Regions from separate parts of the Homo sapiens genome. Here region 1 is linked to region 2. The links are contacts of gene promoters, found by promoter capture Hi-C in blood cells and fetal thymus (Javierre and others, 2016). All regions are on one chromosome and are shown on one strand. Each heading gives the region's core, a stretch centred on a gene start or on the middle of the fragment in contact. The rest is flanking DNA. Distances are from core to core; before and after follow the strand shown.

Evidence for each region. Contacts are between HindIII fragments. The CHiCAGO score rates a contact against its expected background, and 5 or more counts as called.
Region 1: a fragment that was not itself captured here is called in contact with the fragment with the promoter of GLB1L3 in region 2 in 1 of 17 cell types (naive CD4 T cells); the score reaches 5.5 in naive CD4 T cells.

What each region holds. Positions count from the first base shown.
Region 1 is chr11:134,369,747-134,376,302 of GRCh38, forward strand. GLB1L2 (galactosidase beta 1 like 2) reads left to right here. Exons shown (of 19, transcript NM_001370461.1): 11 at 59-139; 12 at 547-653; 13 at 1,262-1,402; 14 at 1,675-1,746; 15 at 2,006-2,084; 16 at 3,975-4,062; 17 at 4,399-4,510; 18 at 4,856-4,972; 19 at 5,226-6,556. The coding sequence ends at 5,312. Among named protein-coding and RNA genes, the nearest start is that of B3GAT1, 39 kb to the right of the region's middle. The HindIII fragment of the contact is 4,679 bases long and covers 2,499-6,556 here.
Region 2 is chr11:134,273,498-134,280,023 of GRCh38, forward strand. GLB1L3 (galactosidase beta 1 like 3) reads left to right here and starts at 2,882. Exons shown (of 20, transcript NM_001080407.3): 1 at 2,882-3,266; 2 at 3,829-3,954; 3 at 4,203-4,415. The coding sequence starts at 3,244. RefSeq lists enhancers at 2,041-2,150, 2,211-2,340, 2,491-2,540 and a silencer at 2,991-3,060. The HindIII fragment of the contact is 7,995 bases long and covers 1-4,720 here.

The DNA of each region.
Region 1 (6,556 bases), core at 3,588-6,087, 98 kb after region 2:
TGCTACATGTGCTGTGCTGGGGACAGGAATGACCATGACAGGGCCCGGTGTCTTGCAGACTATGATGCTGTGCTGACAGAAGCCGGCGATTACACGGCCAAGTACATGAAGCTTCGAGACTTCTTCGGCTCCATCTCAGGTACCCAGCAGACAGCAGACTCAAGTTCCAACTCAGGCCCTCGCTTCTGCTCTCAGACCCCTAAAGAGTTACTTCCTTACTGTCCCACCTCGACCCCAGTTGATCTGCGTGCAAGAATATCCTAGACAAGGACAGGGAGGTGTGTGAGGCTGTTTCCATCTTGCCGGCTTCACCTGTTACAGGTGTTAACGCTCCTTATCTCCTGTGGAGGACGGGAGAACGCCCTGGCTTTCCCCCAGGCCTGGCCTTCCTCCCTGGCCTCAGCAGGTGCTGAGAGCTAGCCTGTTGTTCCTCTTGGTGCTGGGACGCAGGAGCACATCGGGTCTGTGGATGGGAGCCGGGTGGGGAGGACGAGCAGGCAGTGACATTTGGGTCCGTTGGGGGTGACCCTGTTTTCTGTGTTGCAGGCATCCCTCTCCCTCCCCCACCTGACCTTCTTCCCAAGATGCCGTATGAGCCCTTAACGCCAGTCTTGTACCTGTCTCTGTGGGACGCCCTCAAGTACCTGGGGGAGGTGAGTGCTGTGGGCAGTCATCGGGAGGTGAGTGAGTGCCGGGGGCAGTCGTTGGCAGGGAGGTGAGTGCTGGGGGCAGTCGTCGGCGGGAGGTGAGAGTCGTCGGGGCAGCAGGGCCTGGAGCCCCTCCAGACAGGGAGTGTGGGGGGAGGCAGGCCAGTGCCTGGTGGCTCTGGGGTCTGCTCTCCGGCCTTGGAGCTCAGAGGGAAGAGGACAGACTCATGCTGGAGTGTGAAGTGGGAGAAACAGAGGTCCCTGAGGAACAGCGGCTGGCCCCGTGGGCCTTTCCTTCCTCCAGCCTCAGAGAGGAGAGTGAGGGGCAGAGGAACAGGCCGTCCCCTCCCCAAGAAGGGGGTGCCTCCTCCGGCGGACTGAGGCTGTGATGTGTGTCCCCTGCCTGCGGACTGCACTCTGCTGGTGCACACCCCTTTGCCCCACTCCTCTTCCCCGTCACCCTGGAGAGTTGTATGTTTAGTGCAATGAGAAGTCAAAGTAGAAAACACCCACCAAACCTCCGCTTCCACCCCATGTGCCAGCCCCCAGGCAGAGTCTGTCTGTGACCCCACTCCTCCTGAGCCTGCCCACCCCTCCATCTCTTCTGTACGCAGCCAATCAAGTCTGAAAAGCCCATCAACATGGAGAACCTGCCAGTCAATGGGGGAAATGGACAGTCCTTCGGGTACATTCTCTATGAGACCAGCATCACCTCGTCTGGCATCCTCAGTGGCCACGTGCATGATCGGGGGCAGGTAGGAGCTTCTCTTCTAAATTCCTGTGACCTTCTGGTGAGCAGCTCTGCAATAGGCGTCTCATGCCCTCCCCTCAGAATCAGCTCTTACCAGTGTGTGACAATGGCCCTTCTGAGTCAGCTCTGTGAGCCTTCAGGGGGCATTCATGTCTGCTCTGCCCACTGGCCCCTCGTCTGCCTACAGGCACGCGTGCTGCCCTTCTTGGCCTGGAGGAGGTCCCGCTTACCCTCCTCCTGTTGGTCATGGATGTTCCTGCCTGTTCCCTTTGGCAGGTGTTTGTGAACACAGTATCCATAGGATTCTTGGACTACAAGACAACGAAGATTGCTGTCCCCCTGATCCAGGTTCGTTGTTTTTGGGAGCTGGGTGATGGCTAGCCCCCGCTGCTTCGAGGAAGTCTGGGGGCAGTCACTGAGGAAAACCTGGGAGACCCGTGGCTCCTTACCCACAAGCTGTAGGTGGAGAGGGCGAGTGTGGCTTTCTGCCCAGCTGGGATGTACACTCCCATCCCCAGAGCGTAGGGAAGAACTGGGGTCCACAAGCAAATTCTGAGGGGCAGCTGTGGCCTTCTGACAGTCATCGTTAGCCCCGTGTTCCCGGCAGGGTTACACCGTGCTGAGGATCTTGGTGGAGAATCGTGGGCGAGTCAACTATGGGGAGAATATTGATGACCAGCGCAAAGGTGGGTCCCAGAATGTGTCAAAAGAAGAGTGGCCATGCTGGACACACAGGTGGCTATTGCTTCTCTATGCTAGCAGGCCACCAGGCCATGGAGGCCTCTTGCAGGGAGGTGGAGGCTGGGTTGTCCCATACATGAGGCCAGTTCTGAGTGGGCCAGAGAAACTCCGCTGGGCTGTGGCCCCTGTCCTGTTAGCACTGCACGCGTGCATCGTCTGCGTGCTCGTGATAAACACTGTGAACACTGAGCTGGCCTCTTGTCTCCCCTGGGCTGCAGTCGGTTTCTGCAAGGATGTCTGCTTGGGGGGGCGGCAGTGAGGAGCAATGAATGTGATTTCCAGGAATCCAAGGAAAGGCACAAGACCCCTGCCTTCTTGGGCCTCCACACTGAAGTTCTCTTCTTGATCCATCTTGGGAAAGCTTATCTCAGATGTTGGGGGAGGAGGATGCGGGACATACAGCAAACAAAACACCTGTTGGTAGCGTACCCCTCTGGGAATAGGCCGCCAATTTGCTTTATGTTTCCTGGCCTACTAAATCTTTTATGCTTTAATTTAGCCCTTCCTTTTTTTTTTTGAGACGGAGTCTCGCTCTTTCACCCAGGCCAGACTGCAGTGGTGCAATCTCGGCTCACTGCATGCTCCACCTCCCGGGTTCATGCCATTCTCCTGCCTCAGCCTCCCGAGTAGCTGGGACTACAGGCGCCCGCCACCGTGCCCAAATTTAGCCCTTCCTTTTTAAAAAAAATCTAGCTAAATGTGGGTGGTTTCAGGTAAGTTATAAAAAAAGAACTCAGAACAAAATGAATGCGACTGTGGTGAGCAGCACCGGTGACCTCCCAGCTCTCTCACGGTGTCTGCGTTTGTGACGGAGGAAACTTGAAGAGCTCTTATTGGTCCACATTTCCTCCGAGAGCCGTCTGGTGGCCTGCCAGGAAAGCCACGTGGCCCAGACACTGGGGCCTGGATCCTGGGGATCAGGGCCCTTCTAGATGGGCCTCAGAGCGGCATCTAGCACCACCCAGGCCCACACTCCTTTACCCTAGACAGCTCCCTCTCTGGGCCTGTCCTCACTTCTGTTGTTCTCCTGGGAGTTGGAAGGAGCACCAGCCTGACCATTGTTCCTAACTTTGCTTCCCTGAGCCCTTGTTGAGGGTCCCCTGGGCCCACACTGTGGAGTCCTGTCCTCTGGATCACAGTTCAATGTTTATAAGTCACAGACCTCCCTTGAGAAATGCGCGTGCCCACATAGACCCGCACCTGCCATTTCGGAGTCTGTAGGCCCTGCAAAGCCTCTCCACAGTCCTCGGCCTCCAAATTCCCAAGCTAGCCACTCAGCAGCTCTGTAATCTGAGACTGGCAGGGCTGGCCCGGCCCCGGGACACTGATGAGTGGCTCCTCAAGAGGACACATCTCTTCCCTGTTGGATGCCCGAGGGAGGGTGCCATCTGCTCACAGTCCAAACACTCCTAATGCACAGCTTTAATCCTAGGTGGCAGAGATGATTCTGGCTGAGTTATTAGGTCTGTGTAGCTTGGGCCCCACTGAAACTGGCCCTGCAGCTAGGCCAGAACCCTCTCGGTCATCTGGAACTTCCTTCAGAGAGAGGCCAGAGGTTGTTCTCGCCCTGTAACACCTCAGCTCTATATCCTTCCCATGGCAAATCTTAGGGTCTTCCTCCTTCCCGTCCCCCACAGAATTGCTAGGGAGCTTTGCTTGCAAGCGAACGGCTTCCCAGGGAGCGTACACTTCAGTACCCCTCACCCCAGCTTCTCAGGGAGCGTACACTTCAGCACCCCTCACCCCAGCTTCCCAGGGCTTCCCCTCGTGGCCCCGGCCCAGCTGACTCGGCCCCTGCCTTTGGGCTACCCACGTGTCCTGCCTCCCTCCCACAGGCTTAATTGGAAATCTCTATCTGAATGATTCACCCCTGAAAAACTTCAGAATCTATAGCCTGGATATGAAGAAGAGCTTCTTTCAGAGGTGGGTCCCTGCCCAGCACCAGCCCTTGCACTCACAGGTATAGTGCTGTGTGGTGGGGCCCAGGGGTCCCTGGTGCACCGTGGCCTGGCCCGCACCCAGGTGTGAACGCCTCCAGGGGCCAGATCGGCTGGCCGAGGTGAGGGGTGGCACCCGCACTAGAAGCCGCATTTGCAGACTAGGAATTCCCAGCATCCTACCGTGCTGCCATTCTGTGTCCTGGTTAAGAGGCGGGGGGCCTTGGATGGGGAAACGGTGTCAGGGCCTTTTATTTTGCTTTATTGTGCTGGTGGATTGAGAAGGGCCTCCTCCCTCTCCTTCTCTGTGTTCTGTCCTTAGGTTCGGCCTGGACAAATGGAGTTCCCTCCCAGAAACACCCACATTACCTGCTTTCTTCTTGGGTAGCTTGTCCATCAGCTCCACCCCTTGTGACACCTTTCTGAAGCTGGAGGTTGGTAACGCCCTTTTCCCTGCCAGTTTCTCCCACCTGCCTCCCGCCTTGGAGGGCTCTGAGCCAAAGCCACGAGCTTGGCGAGAGTCGTTGGTGGCTTCTGTGCCCAGAGGGTCTGAGAGGGCCGCTGGGGCCTCCCTGGGCCAGAGGAGTGGGTTCCCAGCAGAAGAAACACCTCATGCACTAGGGGGACAGGAAATAGAGCATCCCACCTGCCCACCCTCATGGCTGTCCAGACACAGCTCGCTTTGGTCTCCTGGACCTGAGAGAAGCACGCATGCATGTCTCCCTCCACTTTTGCTGTGGCTCTCGTGGTAGATGAACACCCTTCCCCTCTGTTTCAAGGGCTGGGAGAAGGGGGTTGTATTCATCAATGGCCAGAACCTTGGACGTTACTGGAACATTGGACCCCAGAAGACGCTTTACCTCCCAGGTCCCTGGTTGAGCAGCGGAATCAACCAGGTGGGAGCTTCCAGCCCCTTCCTGTTCCCCATGACGCCCTGCCCACCTGCCGTCCCAGGGAGCCTTCGGTCAGGGTGGAGGGGCGTGTCAGCGGGTTCTTCCTCCCTCCTCCTCGCTGCAGACGAGTTGTTGGTCCCTGTCCCTTCCAGCCTGGTTCCCAAACCCTTTCCTTCTGACCCTGCCACCTCTCAGCACCTCCCCTGGCTCCAGGACAGACGTCAGCTGCCCTCCCAGCCGGGCCCTCTCTCCACAGGTCATCGTTTTTGAGGAGACGATGGCGGGCCCTGCATTACAGTTCACGGAAACCCCCCACCTGGGCAGGAACCAGTACATTAAGTGAGCGGTGGCACCCCCTCCTGCTGGTGCCAGTGGGAGACTGCCGCCTCCTCTTGACCTGAAGCCTGGTGGCTGCTGCCCCACCCCTCACTGCAAAAGCATCTCCTTAAGTAGCAACCTCAGGGACTGGGGGCTACAGTCTGCCCCTGTCTCAGCTCAAAACCCTAAGCCTGCAGGGAAAGGTGGGATGGCTCTGGGCCTGGCTTTGTTGATGATGGCTTTCCTACAGCCCTGCTCTTGTGCCGAGGCTGTCGGGCTGTCTCTAGGGTGGGAGCAGCTAATCAGATCGCCCAGCCTTTGGCCCTCAGAAAAAGTGCTGAAACGTGCCCTTGCACTGGACGTCACAGCCCTGCGAGCATCTGCTGGACTCAGGCGTGCTCTTTGCTGGTTCCTGGGAGGCTTGGCCACATCCCTCATGGCCCCATTTTATCCCCGAAATCCTGGGTGTGTCACCAGTGTAGAGGGTGGGGAAGGGGTGTCTCACCTGAGCTGACTTTGTTCTTCCTTCACAACCTTCTGAGCCTTCTTTGGGATTCTGGAAGGAACTCGGCGTGAGAAACATGTGACTTCCCCTTTCCCTTCCCACTCGCTGCTTCCCACAGGGTGACAGGCTGGGCTGGAGAAACAGAAATCCTCACCCTGCGTCTTCCCAAGTTAGCAGGTGTCTCTGGTGTTCAGTGAGGAGGACATGTGAGTCCTGGCAGAAGCCATGGCCCATGTCTGCACATCCAGGGAGGAGGACAGAAGGCCCAGCTCACATGTGAGTCCTGGCAGAAGCCATGGCCCATGTCTGCACATCCAGGGAGGAGGACAGAAGGCCCAGCTCACATGTGAGTCCTGGCAGAAGCCATGGCCCATGTCTGCACATCCAGGGAGGAGGACAGAAGGCCCAGCTCACATGTGAGTCCTGGCAGAAGCCATGGCCCATGTCTGCACATCCAGGGAGGAGGACAGAAGGCCCAGCTCACATGTGAGTCCTGGCAGAAGCCATGGCCCATGTCTGCACATCCAGGGAGGAGGACAGAAGGCCCAGCTCACATGTGAGTCCTGGCAGAAGCCATGGCCCATGTCTGCACATCCAGGGAGGAGGACAGAAGGCCCAGCTCAGTGGCCCCCGCCCCCCACCCCCCACGCCCGAACAGCAGGGGCAGAGCAGCCCTCCTTCGAAGTGTGTCCAAGTCCGCATTTGAGCCTTGTTCTGGGGCCCAGCCCAACACCTGGCTTGGGCTCACTGTCCTGAGTTGCAGT
Region 2 (6,526 bases), core at 1,632-4,131:
CATCATGGGTTAAATTAATTACTAAGAGACCACGGAGTCCATTTTATAGCTCAAATGAGCATTTTTCATTTCCTGTAGTAAACATGACTTAAGTAAACAAAGAGTTTCTCTAACAAGGATGGCTTACAAGTAGAAGTGGCTAAATTTTCACTTTTATAAATTTTGCTGCTTTTTATTAACTATCAATAAACCTAGAAAGATGATCTTACAAGTAAACAACAGATTTTGCATACTTTAACCTTAAAGATATCTCTGCCTCAACTCTTTGTTCACAGCTCTCTGACACTGGAATATTAATAGTTGATAATCTTTCCCTTTAATTTTTCACTGATAATATTAGTTCCTAACCCAGGTTTTTGGATCTCACAAGGGTTCTTATTATACAGTTGTCACATACATTTCTTTAAGAAGTTCAACCTAAGAAGAAATCAAGAATTGTCTTTTCTGGTTCATACATTAACTCCTATAGGGTTGTCCACTACTAAAGCAACAGAAAGTGCTGCCTTCTTTTTCTGGAAGCTGCTGTTCTTACAAGAGAGCAATTTAGGAGCAGGAATTGTGCTTTATTAACATCAAAGCACTGGCACAGGAAGTTTGCACACTCAGCTCTGGGAGCTTTTTGATGCTTTCTGCCTGCTTTGGGAAATTAGCTCTTTGTTTCATTATCAGTTATCTGGATGGAAACTGAAGGGAAAAATATTGATTTTTTTTTTTTTTTTTAATAAATTGTACCAGGATGCTGGGTCTGCGGCCCTAGTGGCTGGTCTTTCCTGTGCTTGGGATGTTGGCCTTGTAGAGTTACTTCTGTAATCTCAAGACAGAAACTGACAGCTTTGTTTGATCAAAATTGTTACTTCACCTTGCACATTTTCAAGAGTTCTACAGGTTTAATGAGCACAGAAATCTGGGGGAACTTTCACTCTCCAGGGCTCCTTCATAGAGGTTCTCAAATACTCCATCAGCAGAGGGGAGCCCCAGATGGCAAAAGGACACAGGATATGTCATCTTTCAAATGAACCAATAATCCATTATTTGATTCTTCTACCTTTGTCAAAATTCCTCCAGCAACGCCTGCAGAAAATCACAATTCTTGATACATAGCTTGTTCCAATAAAGCACCACAGCATTTCTAGTGACTGCAGGCCCAGCTGTCAAACTCTTTCAACTTGATAGAGAATATGTACACAAAACCTATAGCTGTCATCATACTTAATAGTGAAAAACAGAATGTTTTCCAGCTGACACTGGGGACAAGGTAACAGTGTCAGTTCCTGCCGCTCTTATTCAACACAGAAATTTTAGTCATCATACTAAGACACACAAAAAAAGGAATAAAAAGCCACGCAGACTGGAAAGGTAGAAATAAAACTCTCCATATTTGCAGATGACATGATTATCTACATGGAAAATGCCAAGTAATACACAAATAACCTCTTAAAATTAATAGGTGAGTTTGCCAAGGTCACAGGATATGAGATCAACATGAGAAACACAATCACATTTCTGTATGCTAACAACAAACATGTAAAAACTGAAATAAAAATAATAACAGTTTAAATCTCTTGAGAGCAAAGGAAATATTTAAGTATAAACCTAACAAAACGTGATAGGATCTGATGTTGAAAAAATCACACAATTCTGATGAAAGAAGTGAAAAAAAAAAAACTATTTAAATAGACAGACATACCATGTTCGTGGGTTGGAAGATTCAACATAATAAGGATACAATTCTCAATTTGATCCATAGGTTGATTGCAATTCCTCTCGAAATACCAACATGGCTTTTTGTAGAAACAGACAAGTTTATTCTAAATTTTATGTGGGAAGGCACAAGCCCTAGAATACTTTAAACTTGACAAAGAAGAATAAAGTGTGTGGCTGTAAAACCAAACTGTAAAAAATTAACAGTTCATTGCTTGCAGTCGAAAAAATGAGGAAAAGATGGACGATCTAGGAAACTTTCAGGGAGCTAAGGTGTCGGAGAGCAAAGTATCCTTGTAAGGAATGAGACAAGATAAACTCCCTCCCCCACACACAGTATTTTCAGAGAACTACATTCTTGGTTTCAACCTGATGTCATAGGCTGTGTTCTTTGCAACGGAAGAAGCAAAGACTTCAAAGGGAGAAATCGGAAGATTTCTTTTTTCATCGTAGGGACTTCACATCAGCGTTTCCAAAACCGAGTCCATCGCCTTTTCCCTCTGCGCAGCCTCTATCCCTTCCTGTGTTTCGCATCTCAATAAACGTCCCCGCCAAGTGACTTCAGCCTGAAACATGCGGCCTCCCGGACTCCTCTCTGTGTCACCGACCTCTTGCGCTCAGTTCTCCGGAGCTGCCGGTTTAACCTCGCAAGTCTTCCCGGAACCCGTGCCCTCCTCCTGGGCAGCGTTACCACCACGAGCGCCTACCTGAGAGGACGCCTGTTCTCATCCAGCCTCCACCCTGCAGCCGAGCAATCTCCGTAAAACGAACACCTGGCTTAGTTTCTGCTGGAAACCGTTGAATAGTCCCCACTGTCTTCTGGAAGGGTCTGGGCAGCTCGGCGTGGCGTCCACGGCCCCACCAGGCCTCTGCCTCCTGCAGGTCCCGCTACTTCGTCACCAAAGCGCCCGCCGCGCTCGCATCTGCTGTGAGGCTGTGCTCGGGCCGCTCCCGCCGAGGGAACGGCCCTCCCAAGGCTCTGCGCCCCAATTCTCGCTCGTTTGCCAAGAGGTAGCCGTGTCGGGGAGCTAGAGTTCTCCGGGGACTCTCTCCTGCCCCTCGTGGCCCTCTGTGGAACCCTCGTTTTAGGATCTGCACGCCGTTTCCAGTCGCGCGCGCGGCACGGAGACCGCCCGCTGTGCCCCGCGCTGCGCTCTCTCCGCCCCTCTCCCGCGCAGGCCTCCCTGTGCCAGCCGGCTGTCGACCCAGGTTAGGAAGCCCGAGGTCGGGGCGTTACCCCAAGGGCCCTCCCGCTTCCCCTCCGAGGGCAGAGAGGCGTCCGCGCCCGGACGCACTGCGGGAACACCTGGAGCGCCGGCGGAGCTCGGCTGTCCCCGCGGGAGGGAGCCCGACGCGCATCCTTGGGACCCGGACCCGGCGCCCGCGCCTCGGGACGGATTTCTGCCTCGGCTGCAGGCGCAGCGCGCAGACCTGAGCCTGCCCCGCGGAACCGGGGCTCGAGTCCCGGCCCGAGCGCGGCGTCGGGGCCAGCGGAGAGGGGCGGAAGCCGCAAGGGACCCTCGGCGCCTCGGCCTGGCCGCGATGAAGTCCCCGCCCCTCCTCAGGTGACGGATCGCCGCTGCCGTCCCGGGCTGCCCACCACCCCGGCGCGTGCCCGGGAGCCTCCACCCTCCCCGGGTTCTGTGGCCGGCCACGCGCCCCAGGCACGCGCCGCGCCGGGCCGCGCCACCAAGCCCGCTGTCCCCAGCTTTCCTCGGCAGATCCCCTGGCTACCCCCACCCTGCGGAGGGGCCGTTCACCAGATGCCAGAAAATCAGGGTGGGGCACGCAGGCCAGGGGCTCCAGCGGCTGGGCACCGTGTCCTTCCCGAACCTGGTGCTGGAAGTGCGCCCGCCTCCGCCTCTCCCAGGCACCCACCGGCACTGCCCAGCCCTGTCTGGAGGGTCTAGGACTGAACGTCTGTCCCCGGCCTTCATCCTGGCTGCAGAGGACTGGCCGGGTGATGCCGCGCTGTCCTGGCCCTGGGCCCGCCTGGAAGACCCGCCTGTGTCGCGGGCCCCCTCCCTGGCTCTGGCCTCTAAAGCGCCCCCGGCACAGCTTCCCGGCCCTTGCAGCCCGGTGGGGCCGGAACCTTCCCCTTGTCACTGTTGTCCTTTCTCCTTTCAGCCCGTGTCTCTCCTGGAAGAGAATGGCGGGCATCTTTTTCCTGCCATTTATCTCATCAGGTTTTGCTCCTCGGTTTAAGCAGGAAGAGAACTTCATGCTTGGAAGAGCGCATCCGTCCCAGCCTAGGTTTGCTTGAGAGCTACATCCCTGGGGAGGGAGGGGAGCGATCTCTCCTTTCTTGGAGAAAATAGTATCGCGAATATGCACAGAACACGTCCTACTAACATATGCACAGAACACGTCCTACTAACATATGCACAGAACACGTCCTACTAACAAAAACTTCTTTTCGCTAGGGTTTCAGCCGTGCCTCCGAGCCCTCTCCCGAATCCTCTCTCCCTTTCCACTTTCTTTCCCTCGCCCGCCCCCTCCAGGTTTAATTGGTCTCATCTGACCCCTCTGGAGCTGAAGAATCGATCTGTGGGACTTGGAACTGAAAGCACAGGTCGGGGTAAGCCCCACTTCACACTGGAGGGCCACAAGTTCCTGATCTTCGGGGGCTCCATCCACTATTTCCGGGTGCCCAGGGAGTACTGGAGGGACCGCCTGCTGAAGCTGAAGGCCTGTGGCTTCAATACTGTCACCACGTGAGTGCCGGCCCCTCACCTCCAGGATCTCGTTACCCTACAAGTGCATCCTGGCCGGGAACCTGAGCCTCCGATTTTGGGGGCCCAGCGTGAGGACTTACCTTCCGCACAGTCGTTTCCAGCACATACATTTAATGCTTAAGCGTCCAGCTGTCACTTAGTCTCATGCTGAGTTTGCTCTGTGATCAAAGACTTGGATAGGGGTTAGTGGGAGAATCTCAAGGGAGGAGGTTATTTCCTCAGGATTCTGTCTGTCTAATGAAGGAACACCAGGCGCCCTTGGGAGCACTCAGTTTAATGACATAAGCTTAAGGCACACTTACAGATAAATATGTACTTACAGATACATGCATGTTTTTAAAACAAAAAAAAATTTTTTTTTTTGAGACACAGTTTGTTGTTCTGTTTGTTGCTCAGGCTGGAGTGCAGTGGCCCGATCTTAGCTCACGGCAGCTTCTACTTCTCTGGCTCAGGTGATCCTCCTGCCTCAGCCTCCTGAACAGCTGGGGCCACAGGTGCATGCCACCACACCAGGCTAATTTTTTGAATTGTTTGTAGAGATGGAGTTTCGCCATGTTGCCTGGGCTGGTCTCAAACTCCTGGACTCAAGCAGTTCACCCTTTAAAAGGGAACACCACGGTCGTCCTCATGCCTGTATACAACTGACCAGCCACCCTGTATGACCACAAAAAAGCAAAACTGCTCCAGAATCAGAGGCCCTGTCCTCCTGAGGGCCTGCCACCACCATTTTGTGGCAAGCTTACCATCACACTCACTGTAAAGGAGAAGATGCTTAGAGGGCCCTGTGCCTTATTGCAGAGCTGGTATTGAAGGGTGAATTTGAAGCTGAGAGGCAGTAAACTGGTTCATTTAAAATGCAAAGAATTTAATCAGAAATAATCGTTGAGTTTTATTGAGAGCTGCTACTGCATGTATTGGGGGGACAATATAGTTTTTCTTCACTGTTCTTTTGAATTGCTGAATTACAACGGCAATTTTTCTGATAGTCAAGCAGCCATGTGGTACTGGTATAAACTCTGCTTGGCTCTGAGATAGGCACACATTACATACACACAGATTGCTAGACTTTATTTGCTAGTGTTTTATTTCAAATGTGTTTATGATTATAAGCAAAACGGATTTAAAATTTTATTTTGTTAGTATTCTTGTCCAGTTTTGAATCAATCTTATAATAAGCTCATAAAGTGAGTAAATCTTCTTTTCTTACTTATTGGAAATATTTTGCACAAGAATTATCTTTACCCTGAAAGTTTCTTAAGATTCACCTGTAAACTCTGTGACTACTATCTTTTGTGGTTTGTGAGGTGAAGGGTTTGGGGACGACATAGCTCTTTGAATGGTTATTAACTCATGTCCTCTATTTCTTCTTGAATACATCCTGCTCTCCCCCTTTTTTTCTTTCCTTTCTTTTTTCTTTCTGTTTTCTTTTTCTTTTTTTTTTTTTTTTTTTTGAGATAGAGTCTTGCTCTGTTGCCCAGGCTGGAGTGCAGTGGCGCGATCTCTGCTCACTGCAACCTCCCCCTCCTGGGTTCAAGTGATTCTCCTGCCTCACCCTCCTGAGTAGCTGGGATTATGGCTCCCGCCACCACACCCGGCTAATTTTTGTATTTTTAGTAGAGATGGGGTTTCACCATATCGGTCAGGCTGGTCTCAAACTCCTGACCTCAGGTGATCCGCCTGCCTCGGCCTCCCAAAGTGCTGGGATTACAGATGTGAGCCACCTCGCCCAGCCTTCTTTCTTCTTTTGAACCCACTGGGACTTAAGAAATTTTTCCTTTCTTTCCTGTACTCACTTGGAAGTTATATACATCACGTTGTGTATTTTGGCTGTTTTTTTCTTTTTTCTTAATCTTATCTATTTAGTCTTTTCAGATAACTAGCTTGTAGCTTTGTTAGTACTCTCTGTATATTTCGGATCTGTATTTCACAGTTTCTGAGTTATGTGTAATTTCCTTTTCTCTACTTTATTAAATATAGTACCTTCTCTTCTCTGTCCTTCTCAGTTTCCTCCTCCTCCTTCTTCTTTTTCCCTGAGTTAAAATTTAGCTTCTTTTACTTCCAGTCTTTTGTGTTTTCTAATATATTCCTTC